Linked DNA regions of Homo sapiens: all the other regions are linked to region 1. Evidence: promoter capture Hi-C in 16 types of primary human blood cells and fetal thymus (Javierre and others, 2016). All regions are on one chromosome and are shown on one strand. Each heading gives the region's core, a stretch centred on a gene start or on the middle of the fragment in contact. The rest is flanking DNA. Distances are from core to core; before and after follow the strand shown.

What was found. Contacts are between HindIII fragments. The CHiCAGO score rates a contact against its expected background, and 5 or more counts as called.
Region 2: a contact is called between a fragment that was not itself captured here and the fragment with the promoter of TRPM8 in region 1, in 7 of 17 cell types (activated CD4 T cells, naive CD4 T cells, non-activated CD4 T cells and 4 more). The highest score is 7.5, in activated CD4 T cells.
Region 3: a contact is called between a fragment that was not itself captured here and the fragment with the promoter of TRPM8 in region 1, in 5 of 17 cell types (total CD8 T cells, activated CD4 T cells, non-activated CD4 T cells and 2 more). The highest score is 8.1, in total CD8 T cells.
Region 4: a contact is called between a fragment that was not itself captured here and the fragment with the promoter of TRPM8 in region 1, in 6 of 17 cell types (total CD4 T cells, total CD8 T cells, non-activated CD4 T cells and 3 more). The highest score is 11.6, in total CD4 T cells.

The regions. Positions count from the first base shown.
Region 1 is chr2:233,915,934-233,918,633 of GRCh38, reverse strand. It overlaps TRPM8 (transient receptor potential cation channel subfamily M member 8), which reads right to left and starts at 1,261. Exons shown (of 26, transcript NM_024080.5): 1 at 1,202-1,261. The HindIII fragment of the contact is 1,520 bases long and covers 1-1,282 here.
Region 2 is chr2:234,509,593-234,512,292 of GRCh38, reverse strand. No RefSeq gene overlaps it. Among named protein-coding and RNA genes, the nearest start is that of ARL4C, 14 kb to the right of the region's middle. The HindIII fragment of the contact is 3,740 bases long and covers 1-2,700 here.
Region 3 is chr2:234,549,334-234,552,033 of GRCh38, reverse strand. No RefSeq gene overlaps it. Among named protein-coding and RNA genes, the nearest start is that of ARL4C, 54 kb to the right of the region's middle. The HindIII fragment of the contact is 1,047 bases long and covers 877-1,923 here.
Region 4 is chr2:234,529,351-234,532,050 of GRCh38, reverse strand. No RefSeq gene overlaps it. Among named protein-coding and RNA genes, the nearest start is that of ARL4C, 34 kb to the right of the region's middle. The HindIII fragment of the contact is 6,369 bases long and covers 1-2,700 here.

The sequences.
Region 1 (2,700 bases), core at 12-2,511:
AAAATAGCAAAAGCCAGTGGAGGCTCCCGAAGTCATTGACCCCAAGGTATCCTGCTCCAAAAAGTAGAAGTGAGAAACAGGAGGTAGATACAGGCAGCAGGTGATGCTCCAAGATGCTATTTGCTGAGACCCTCTTAGAATAAGAGGAAAAGCAGGGGTCCCTATGCAGCCTGGACCCCTACTGTCTTCACAGGTGCCAAGAATGATATCAGTTCTTAGGCAAAACAAAGATAGTGATAATTATTATTATAAATTGTAATGTAATTATAATTTATAATGTAATTATATTATTTCTATAACAATTATATTATTTGTAATATAATTATAAATATCTTATTAATAAATAATAATAAACAGCTTTTTTCCAAATTATAAATAAATATGCATCCAAAGTCACAACCTTGGAAGTAAGTCCTTTGCACTGTCAAGATTTTGACAAGCTAAAACTTCTCTCATGATCAGTATCTTTGTATTAGCACATATAGAATAGTCTTAAGGAATAACCATTTCCTTATGTTCAGCTCAAGAATCCTAACACTGAAAAAGTCAGCACTGGCAATAATGGATTGAAAATTAAATGGAAATAAAACCTTTAATTATTCATCCAGCCCTTCAGTGTTTCTCTCTTGCTTATAAATAATACAAATGATGAGCCTGTTTCAACAGGCTGGAAGAACGGAAGGAAACACAGTATGTAAAAACAAGCTAAATATACCCGCTCCTTTCATTATCAAAGAATATTTACTATTTGAATGCATTATTTCTTGATGTTAATTTACATTTCACCATAGTCTTGATTCAAGAAAAAACTTGTTTTATTATGTTCCCAATAGGATTGCTTCAGATAGTCAGTTGCAGAGTTCAGATGCCAGTGAATTTTTCATTAAAGCTCATTTAGGGAGTTTCTAACTCCTTCAATCAGAAACAGAAAACTGTAATTATATTTAAAGTCATTCAAAAATTCAGCAAATAATTCTACATTTCTAAATAAATCTAAGTGAGGATTAGATATATCTGTGAACCCGCATTTGCTTATGCCCACAACACTTTGAGGAATTTAAATTTTTGTCTTCCTTTAGTTTCAAATCTTCATAGAAAAACTAAATGATGCCCCTCCCAGAGACACAAACTCGTACTATTCTACAAGTTACAGCAATGGCAACATTTAAGGAGAAGCAAAAAGCAAAAGTTGATGACATACCCTAAGTGACGGTTTTTGTCAAGCAGGATTTTCTTTCACCCAAGGATCCTGCTGGTCTCTCCCCACAGGAGGAGGAAAGCTTTTATAACTGGAATCTTCTTAGCCCCGCCTTCTTCTCTGAGGTTCTTTTAAGCAGAGGAACAAAAAACTTAAGCCGCTGAAATTGCAAGAAGACTCCTAAAGCCTCCAAGCATAGCAGCAATTTAGCAGTGGAATACGAGTAGGGAATGGATAATTAGTGAACATGGTATTTTAAATGCTAATAAAGAAATGATACCAAATTCCTGCTCTTAGCTTGACAATAACACCATAGTATGAAATCATACTAATACTTAATTTCTGCAATTAATGGCACATTTTAAAAACCACAAATAAAATGGGAAATGCTCATTATAGAAAGTGATGACAAGATTAATTAATAAATTAAAAGCTCTTAATTAAGATTAGGAAAAAAATTATTAAATAGAGGAAATTTAACCAACATTGCTTTTTTGCAGATTTTGTGAACTTTCCTCATACCAACTAAATGCAGTATTGGGCCAGGCAAGAGGGCATCATGGAGGTGAGCAAATCCAGCTTCATTAATTTACAGCTATTTCCTGTCCCCTTTAAACTACACTTTGGAAGAGCTCTCCTCGAAGAAATAAGTAACAATTGTCAGTGGGCAACTTTCGGTCATTTTACTTAAATCACGTGCCACAAACATAACAGTTATATTATAACTAATGTTCCTCTGTTTTGGCCATTATTTCTATTTTATTTTCATATGAAGCATATGTCATAGAGAAATACAAATAGGATAGTGTATTTCAGGAACTGATTGCACAAGACATACACTTGCAAAAAGGTTAGAGATGAAAGAGAAGGAGTGTGAAGGGGTTTTTTGCAAAGGCAGAGAGATTTGAGCAAGGTCTGAAAGGAAGGATAGGGTTGTAGTGATAACTCCTGCAGAAAGCATGTTCAATTCAAGAAGAAAACCCCCTTAACAAAGAGAGACAAAAGACTCCAGACAGAGGTCTCAAACTCAAATATTCCAAGGCTCAGACAGGTCATAAAGATGAAGGGAGCAGCCAAGTGTTAGGTAGTAAGTAGGGAAGGGTGGGGGCTGTGGAAAACTGGAAATGATAGATTTGAATGAGGACCCGTGAGAGAAGAGATCCAGCTAGAAATAGAGAGAGAGAATCAGAGAAATCTCAGAATTACTCTAAATATGGGTCCTAGGACTAAAAACTCCCATACCCAGCATGGTCCCCAAGCACATATATAGCACTGCACAGGGGAGCAAGTCCATCTGAGGAGCGGAGCAGCAAAATGAGCTTTTTAGCTGTTAGAAATATTGAGCCAGCTGGGTGCAGTGGCTCATGCCTGTAATCCCAGCACTTTGGGAGGCTGAGGCGGGCCGATTGCTTGATGTCAGGGGTTCAAGACCAGCCTGGGCAACATGGCAAAACCCTGTCTCTACTAAAAATACAAAAATTAGCCAGGTGTGGTGGCACGTG
Region 2 (2,700 bases), core at 77-2,576, 590 kb before region 1:
ATTACTGAGCATTACAGGTAATGTTTTGTGGGTTCCATCTTTGTCCCCTACCTAGGTTTTATATTTTGGAAATATTCTTCTCTACCATCATTTAGGCAACTTGGAGTTGATTTTGTGCATTACCATAAACTGTGATGTTCTAGTTAACAACTAACTTCCAATTTTGTAATGTTCACATTCAAATTACATTACAATTAGTCATTCTATAGCACCCTTAAATTGAAGTTATTATTATAGGTATTGTGGGTTAAAGTTATTATTAACTTTATTATTTATTGAAGTTATTATTACAGGTATTGTAGGTAGAAAGTGGGGACTTCTGATGGGCCAGGATTTTCTCCAAACTCCCCTTACCACACCCACCTTAAAGGCCAAGGTCCCATAGTGTCCAGCCATACCTGGCTGAATCCTTCACCTCAGCCAGACATCCTTGATGCTGTCTGGGGGGAGAGGACATGGAAAGTTACTGAGTGGTCTCCTTGGCCCAAGAGGCAGCAGGGCTCCCACCACCTATGGGCCCAGATGAGACCATCAAGCTCATTCCCAACCAAATGCAGAGAAATGGGCTTATTCTCTCCTAAAGCTGGAGGCTGTGTCCTTAGATATTCTATCAAAAGGCGTGTGGCAGGGCTTCACCAGCCTCCCACTTCTCTGCTGGGTTCTGGCTGTGAGAATGAGTCAATGGTAGTGAAGGAGGTAAGAAGAGGAATGGGGGAGGAAGAGTGACTCAGTAGGGGCAATGGTGAGATTAGTTGGAATGGTCTAGGGGTGTCCATGGGACAACCCAGTGGAAACTGAACAGGGATTTGGACATAGTTCAAGGCACAGTAGAAGCAAATATCTGGGAAGAAGAATCCACTGGAAACTCAACAACAACACCAAAAACAACCAAGTTTAAAAAGGGACAAGGGACTTGAATAGAGATTTCTCCAAAGAAAACATCCAAATGGCCAATGAGTGCATGAAGAGATGTTCAACATCACTGACCACTAGTGAAATGCAAATCAAAACCACAACGAGACACCATCTCACACTCATCAGGATGGCTAGAATTAAAAAAAAAAAAAAAAAAAGGACAGGCCAGGTGTGGTGGCTCATGCCTGTAACCCCAGCACTTTGGGAGGCCGAGATTGGTGGATCACAAGGTCAGGAGATTGAGACCATCCTGGCTAACACAGTGAAACCCCGTCTCTACTAAAAATACAAAAAATTAGCCGGGCATGGTAGCGGGTGCCTGTAGTCCCAGCTACTCAGGAGGCTGAGGCAGGAGAATGATGTGAACCCGGGAGGCAGAGCTTGCAGTGAGCCAAGATTGCGCCACTGCACTCCAGCCTGGGTGACAGTGAGACTCCGTCTCAAAAAAAAAAAAAAAAAAAGAACATAACAAATACTGGTGATCATGCAGAGAAATTGGAAATTTGTGCACTTCTGGTGGGATTGTAATGGTGCAGCTGGTATGGAAAACAGCATGGCAGTTCCTACAAAACTTAAACACAAAAATACAACATGACTGAGCAATCTCATTTCCAGATATATACCCAAAAGAATTGGAAGCAGGGTTTTGAAGGGATATCTGTACACTCATGTTCATAGCAACATTATTCACAATTGCCAAAAGGTGAAAGCAACTCAAGTATCTGTTGACAGATGAATGAGTAAACAAAATGTGGCACATATGTAAAACGGGAAATTATTTAGCTTTAAAAAGGGAAGATATTCTGACACATGCTACAACATGGATGAGATTTGAGGACATTATGCGAAGTGGAATAAGCCAGTCGAAAAAAGACAAACACTGTATGATTCCATTTATATGAGGTACTTAGTGTAGTCAAAATCATAAAGACAGAAAGTAGAATGGTGATTTCCAGGGGCTGAGAGGAGGGGGAAATAATGAAACATTATTATTAATGGGTAGTTTCAGTTTTACAAGATGAAAAGAGTTATGAGGGTGAATGGTGGTGATGTTTGCTCAATATTCTGAATATATTTAATACCACTGAACTGTACATTTAAAACTGGTTAAGATGGTAAATTTTATGTTATGTGTATTTTCTCACAACAAAAACCTCCTCCTTGTGGAGGAGGAGAAGAATTCACTGGAGCAAAAAAACTGTCCCTTGAAGGCAGGTGTGGTGTGGAACAAGAGCCAAGCAGAGGGCTCAGAAAACACTCACAGTTCAGGGTTAAATGGAAGAAAAGGACTTTGTGAGAGAACCTCAAAATATACAAGAGAGCTAGGAGCAAGGACTACAATGAAAGCCAAAGAAAGGCAAGTCAGAGAGAGTTTTGTGAAAAAAGAATGTGGTTAACAGCACCAGATGCAACTGAGGCAATAAGTATGATTAGGACTAAAATAGGTCCAGTTTGTGCAGCAATTAGGAGGTGACCTTTGCCAGCACAGGTTCAGAGAGTGGGGAAGGGCATGACAGATATGAGCAGACAGAAAGTTGCATTGTGAGAGAAGCAGAGACCCTCTGAGAAGGGAAGGAGTAAAACTGTAGGACAATAGCTAGAGGGCCACACAAATCTAAAAGAGACAGCGAAAGAGAGAGGGAGACAGAGAGAGACAGGGAGAGAGAGATGAGGAGAGAGAGAGTTGAGACAGCTGAGACTTGAATAGGGGCTATATTTTAAGAGGATTTATAAATCTTTGTGCTTTTGTGGCCAAGAGCATCCCCTACACACAGTGGAAGCTCA
Region 3 (2,700 bases), core at 151-2,650, 630 kb before region 1:
ATTTATTTATTTACATGAATTTTCTCTTGTATTTGAAAGAAGAGACATTCAGTTCTTAGTCTTTAATTTTTGGTTTACCAAGTTGTGTTTATCCCTATCGCTTAATTATCAGAGTTAAAAAAAAATGAGTAGGAATTTTGACTATGCCTTATCCATGGAAAGAACTGCCATCCCCTCCTTTATACCCCGATTTTTGTTCATTCGATGCTATAAACCAACAGTGTTGTTATAATTCCATTTTTTCTTATTTGTTATAGAAATATTCTTTTGTAAAAATAAATTGGCTGGGCGCGGTGGCTCAGGCCTGTAATCCCAGCACTTTGGGAAGGCCGAGGCGGGGGAATCACCTGAAGTCAGGAGTTCCAGACCATCCTGGGCAACATGGTGAAACCCTGTCACTACTACAAATACAAAAATTAGCTGGGTGTGGTAGTGCGTGCCTGTAATCCTAGCTTCTTGGGAGGCTGAGGCAGGAGAATCACTTGAACCAGGGAGGCGGAGGTTGCAGTGAGCCGAGATCACACCATTGCACTCCAGCCTGGGCAACAAGAGTGAAACTCCGTCTCAAAAAATTAAATTAAATTAAATAAATAAATTGAGGCCTTTACCATTCATATTAGAAACAGGATATCCGATGATGACTTGTGCTTCTCTGTCAAACTCCACTAGCAGCCCAGTGGATTTCCTCTTGGCCTGTGGATTTTCTCTCTGTTTTTTAGGTTCCTGGTGGTAGGGGCACTCTTGTGAATTTCTCTCTCACTCTCTCCTTCTTTTCTGTTTTCTTTCTGTAATGTCATGGCCACTTTTAATGGGACGTTGTGGATGAGTTCCCAGGAACAGCTAGGATGTCAAAACATGACTTCAGGGGCAGAAGCTTGTTTTCAGTGAGATCATACAATTGTGATCTTCAAAGAGCGTCCTGAGTCCTGGGTGCTTCCTGGGAACACTGTTACAGGCACCATCTTTGGAGTCCGGAAGACTTACTTGCTTTATCAACTCGAACAAGTTACTCTCTGGGCCTCAGTTGCTTCTTCTGCAAAATAGTGACTCACGGAACCCTTGTGAGAAAGGTGTGATTATCCATCAAAAGTGTCTGTAAGGCACGCGCTGGAGGCTAGCAGACAGCAAGGACTTGCAAATGAACTTACCCAGCCTGTGGTCTACCACAAGATCGTTTGACCTGTGTGCATTCTCAATTCTCCCATGAGATCGCTGTAACGTTTATCTGTGGTGGGTGGGGGATGCCGAAGGAAGTTTCTGGACCCAATTTCTTCTTTCTCCCTAACCTTATGATGATGCTGTGGGCTCTGCGCTCCCTCTAGTGGTGAAACTGAACACCTTCGCTATGAGAGCAGCGTCGTTCGGGGCTGAGATGGTTGTGGTCACGATGTGGGTTCCTCTCTTTGTTCTCCTGCCCTGGCTAGGGATGCAGTTGGCACCTTCCACTCTTGGAGAGTCTGAAGAATGCAGAAAAACTTCGGAGAATGTTCTGATCGCGGAATTTGTTAGGACAGAGTCTTACAAGAACTAATTTGAGGATTTTACACATCTGCATGTATCTTTGACCTTAAAACTCTATTAATTTTTCATCGCCCTTTTCCACACTAATTATACTTATCTTTGCAAGGGTATTATACTTCCTTCCAACAGGATTTCTTACTCTCTCAAGTGATTTTGATAATCTTCATAATCCTGTTAAAAATAGCCATAATTCGTTCAAGTATATGAGAGTTGAGTACGAAATTAGTTTGGCTGGTTGACTCACTGCATTTTAAACCCAAGGATATGGGAAGAATGTCTTAATAGAGCCATTTAAATTTTCAAGATGTGAACTTGAACTTACCCTCTGAAGTTGGGGTCTAAGTTAGACAAAGAATTCTGCTTTGTGTGTGCCTGAGCACGTGTGTGTGTCTAATTTAAGCTTTCCAAAACCAGGATCGAATTCCTGTCGGTGTCATTAGGTTGTAGAACTTACGTTAAATGTTCCCTCTTTTTGTCTTAGTGACGTCTGTGATGACAAAATAATTAAGATTGTGTCTCTCTTCATGGAATCAACCTAGATGTCCATCAATGGTGGACTGAATAAGAAAATGTCATACATGTACACCATGGAATACTATGGAGCCATAAAAAAGAGTGAAATTATGTCCTTTGCAGCAACATAGATGTGGCTGCAGGCCATCATTCTAAATGAAGTAATGCAGAAACAAAAAGGCAAATGTCACATCTCACTTACAAGTGGGTGCTAAACCTTGGTACACGCAAATATAAAGATGAGAACAATAGGCACTGGGGACTCCAAAAGGAGAGAAGGAGGGAGAAAGGGAGGGAGTGGGGAGAAAGGGCTGAAGACTTTCTACTGGGTACTACCCTCACTATGTGGGTGATGGAATCAATAGAAGTCCAAACATCAGCATCACATGATATATCCTTGAAACAAACCTGCACGTGTAACCCCTGAATCTAAAATATAAAACAATTTAAAAACTCTGTGTCTTTAAATGTTTTCCACCTGCACCTGAAAGAAGAAGAACCTACGCAACTTTGAATCATACGAAGGAGTAATAGAATCTTAGAGTTGAGCCAGAGATCTCAGAGGTCCTCGTCCACACACCTCCTGATGGAGAGATTCCTTCCATAGCAACCCTGAGAGAGGGCGGACTGACCTCAGCCAAATCCATCAGAATGCTTTTGTTTGCA
Region 4 (2,700 bases), core at 78-2,577, 610 kb before region 1:
ACTTTTAGTTCTTTAAGGACTCTCCATACTGTTTTCCATAGAGGCTGTACTGGTTTACATTTGAAATGCGTTGTTTTCTTGAATAGCCTTGAAATCACAGGTGCTAACACATAAGAGCTAGCAACTGTACGTGAACCCTGGGCTACTAATTGCTCATCAGACTCCTCTAACCCCTTTGGTGTGTGCCAGATATAAAACAATGTGATGTAGGAGTTTGGGTTGAGGCCTGCAGGACTGAAGCCTGTCTGGTTCAGCAGTTCCAGGAGAGGAGGGGAGAGGATCAAGCCAAACCCACTCCTGGAAAAAGCACAGGAGTCCATACGTGCAAGAATGGGAGGGTGCACGGTAAGGGCAGAGGGCTGGTCCTCCCAGTGGGGAGGCACTGCTTATGCCCACGACTTGGCTGGGCATTTTCAAAACATCTTTCTTTCCCCATCCCAGCTCTTCTAGTCTGTAACCCTCTGAGGAAGAAGTCCTAGAAAGTTCCAGTTACTTGAAGAAATGCCCTTGTCCCTCTCTTCAAGGACTCTTTCATATATACCCAGAACCTAAGAGTGGTGCTGGGGTTGCTGCAGGCTTCTGAAACCCGCTGGCCTTGTGCCCAGAATTCCAGGGAACCCTGCAGGCCCATGATGTCCACAAGTGTCAGGGACCCAGAAAACTGTGGAGAAGGCTAAGTTTTGACCCACTTGCCCTCCCCACCCAAGCTGGGCCCCTTGAAGCCCAGATGGACCCAGAGCACTTCCAGTGTTGGAGCTCCAGAATATAGAAAAATGATGAAAATGCCAAAAGAGGATTACAATATTTGTAGTATATTCTAAAATCCTACATGGAACAAATTAATGCTTTTAATGCAAAAAATTATAATTAAATTATTCACATGGTAGTACTGTTGATGAAAAGAGTCAAACTCTGTAAAATGTTTGAAGAGATTTATTTGAGCCAAATATCAGTGATTAATGGCCTGTGACACAGCCCTTGAGAGGTCCTGAGAACATGTGCCCAAGATGGTTGGGCTTCAGCTTGGTTTTATACATTTTAGGAAGACACAAGACATCAATCAATACATTTAAGATGTACCTTGGTTCCGTCCAGAAAGGTGGGACAGCTGGAAGCAGGGGCTTCCAGGTCATTGGTGGATTCAAAGATTTTCTGATTGGCAGTTGGTTGAGTTATTATCTAAAGATCTGGAATCAATAGAAAGAAATGTCTGAGTTATGATAAGTGGTTGTGGAGACCAAGGTTTTCTTATGCAGATAAAGAAGCCTCCAGGTAACAGGCTTCAGAGAGAAGAGATTGCAAATGTTTCTTATCAGACTTAAAGAGTCTATTCTGTCAGTCTTAATTAAGGTCTGTTTTAATGTTAATGCTGGTCAGTTGTGTCTGCATTGCAGAAGGGAGGAGGGAATAATAAGGCATGTCCAACTTTTCCTTCCCATCATGACCTGAACTAGTTTTTCAGGTTAACTTTGGAATGCCTCAGCTGAGAGGAGGGGTCGATTCAGATGGTTGGGGGGCTTATAATTTTATTTTTGGTTTACTGAATAGATTTATTTAAACCCATGAAACATGCTGTTCTTTAGGCAGTGCAATCAACCTGCAAGCTCCATGCATGATGCATAACCCAAACCTCTTGTCTCTGGTTCTGCAGGTCCTTCCTGGCATTAAGGACTAGGGTCTACAGGCGAGACCCTGGAAGGCTCCAGACAGAAGGGTCAGCCCCAGGGAAACCAGCCCATTGGTGATGTCCCTTTCATGATTCTATCCTAGCTGTGATGGCTTAACCTCTGAGTGCTTTGTGTGCCTTTGCTTTATGTAGAGACACACACATAGGAATAGATTTCCTAAATTTAAGGTCAATGCCCTTTGAGGCGTGGAAGTGACAGTACCTTCCTTCATGGCCACTCTGTCCACACACACAGAGTGCAGCCTCCAGAGTTGCTGCTTGCAGCTCTAGGTTCCAAGATCCTTCCCTGCAGGCCCTAGAGAGGGGTCAGTTCTTGAACAGACAGCCCCTGAGGAATCATTCTAATCAGGCCGTTGGAAAAGTCTGCAACAGTTTGGCAGGCTGCCCTCTTTGCCCAGAACCATTTGTATGACCAGTGACACATGAGGAGAGGATGATACTTGCTACAGCATCTCTTTGTCCATTTCAAAGTCACCATTTGTTGTGGTTATTTCAGGGCCTATTGTATTGGTCACATTGCTCATGAAGTTCAAGAGGATGATCTGCTTCCTAATCCAGTTCCCCCTCTCACCTGTGGCCCTTCCCTCTGCACTCTGTCCTCCTGCTGCAGAGGACATTTAACATTTTTTGGAAATCTGGCTGCTGACTCTCTTCCTTTGGGGAATTCCCACAGCAGGAGGTCTGGTGGGAGATAGCACCAACCTCTTATTGCAGAACCCCACATATCTGGATGCTGGCTCTGCTCACACTCTGGCACTTTGGCAGGGTGACCTGGGCTTGGTCAACTAGATATCCAGTCCCAGGCTTCCCTGCAAATGAGCAAAGGTGCCCCTTCCTCTGGACAGAGGCAGCCTGTGCCGGGGCATAGGGCTTGGAAACTGGAATTCAGGCACCAGAAACAAATGGCACTAAAATCCAGGAGGCGGCAATAGAATCCAGTCTGGTTGGTGGCCTCCAGGTTCCAGTGGCAGTGCTTCCAGTGACAACATCCACTGGCCAATGATGATGCACTG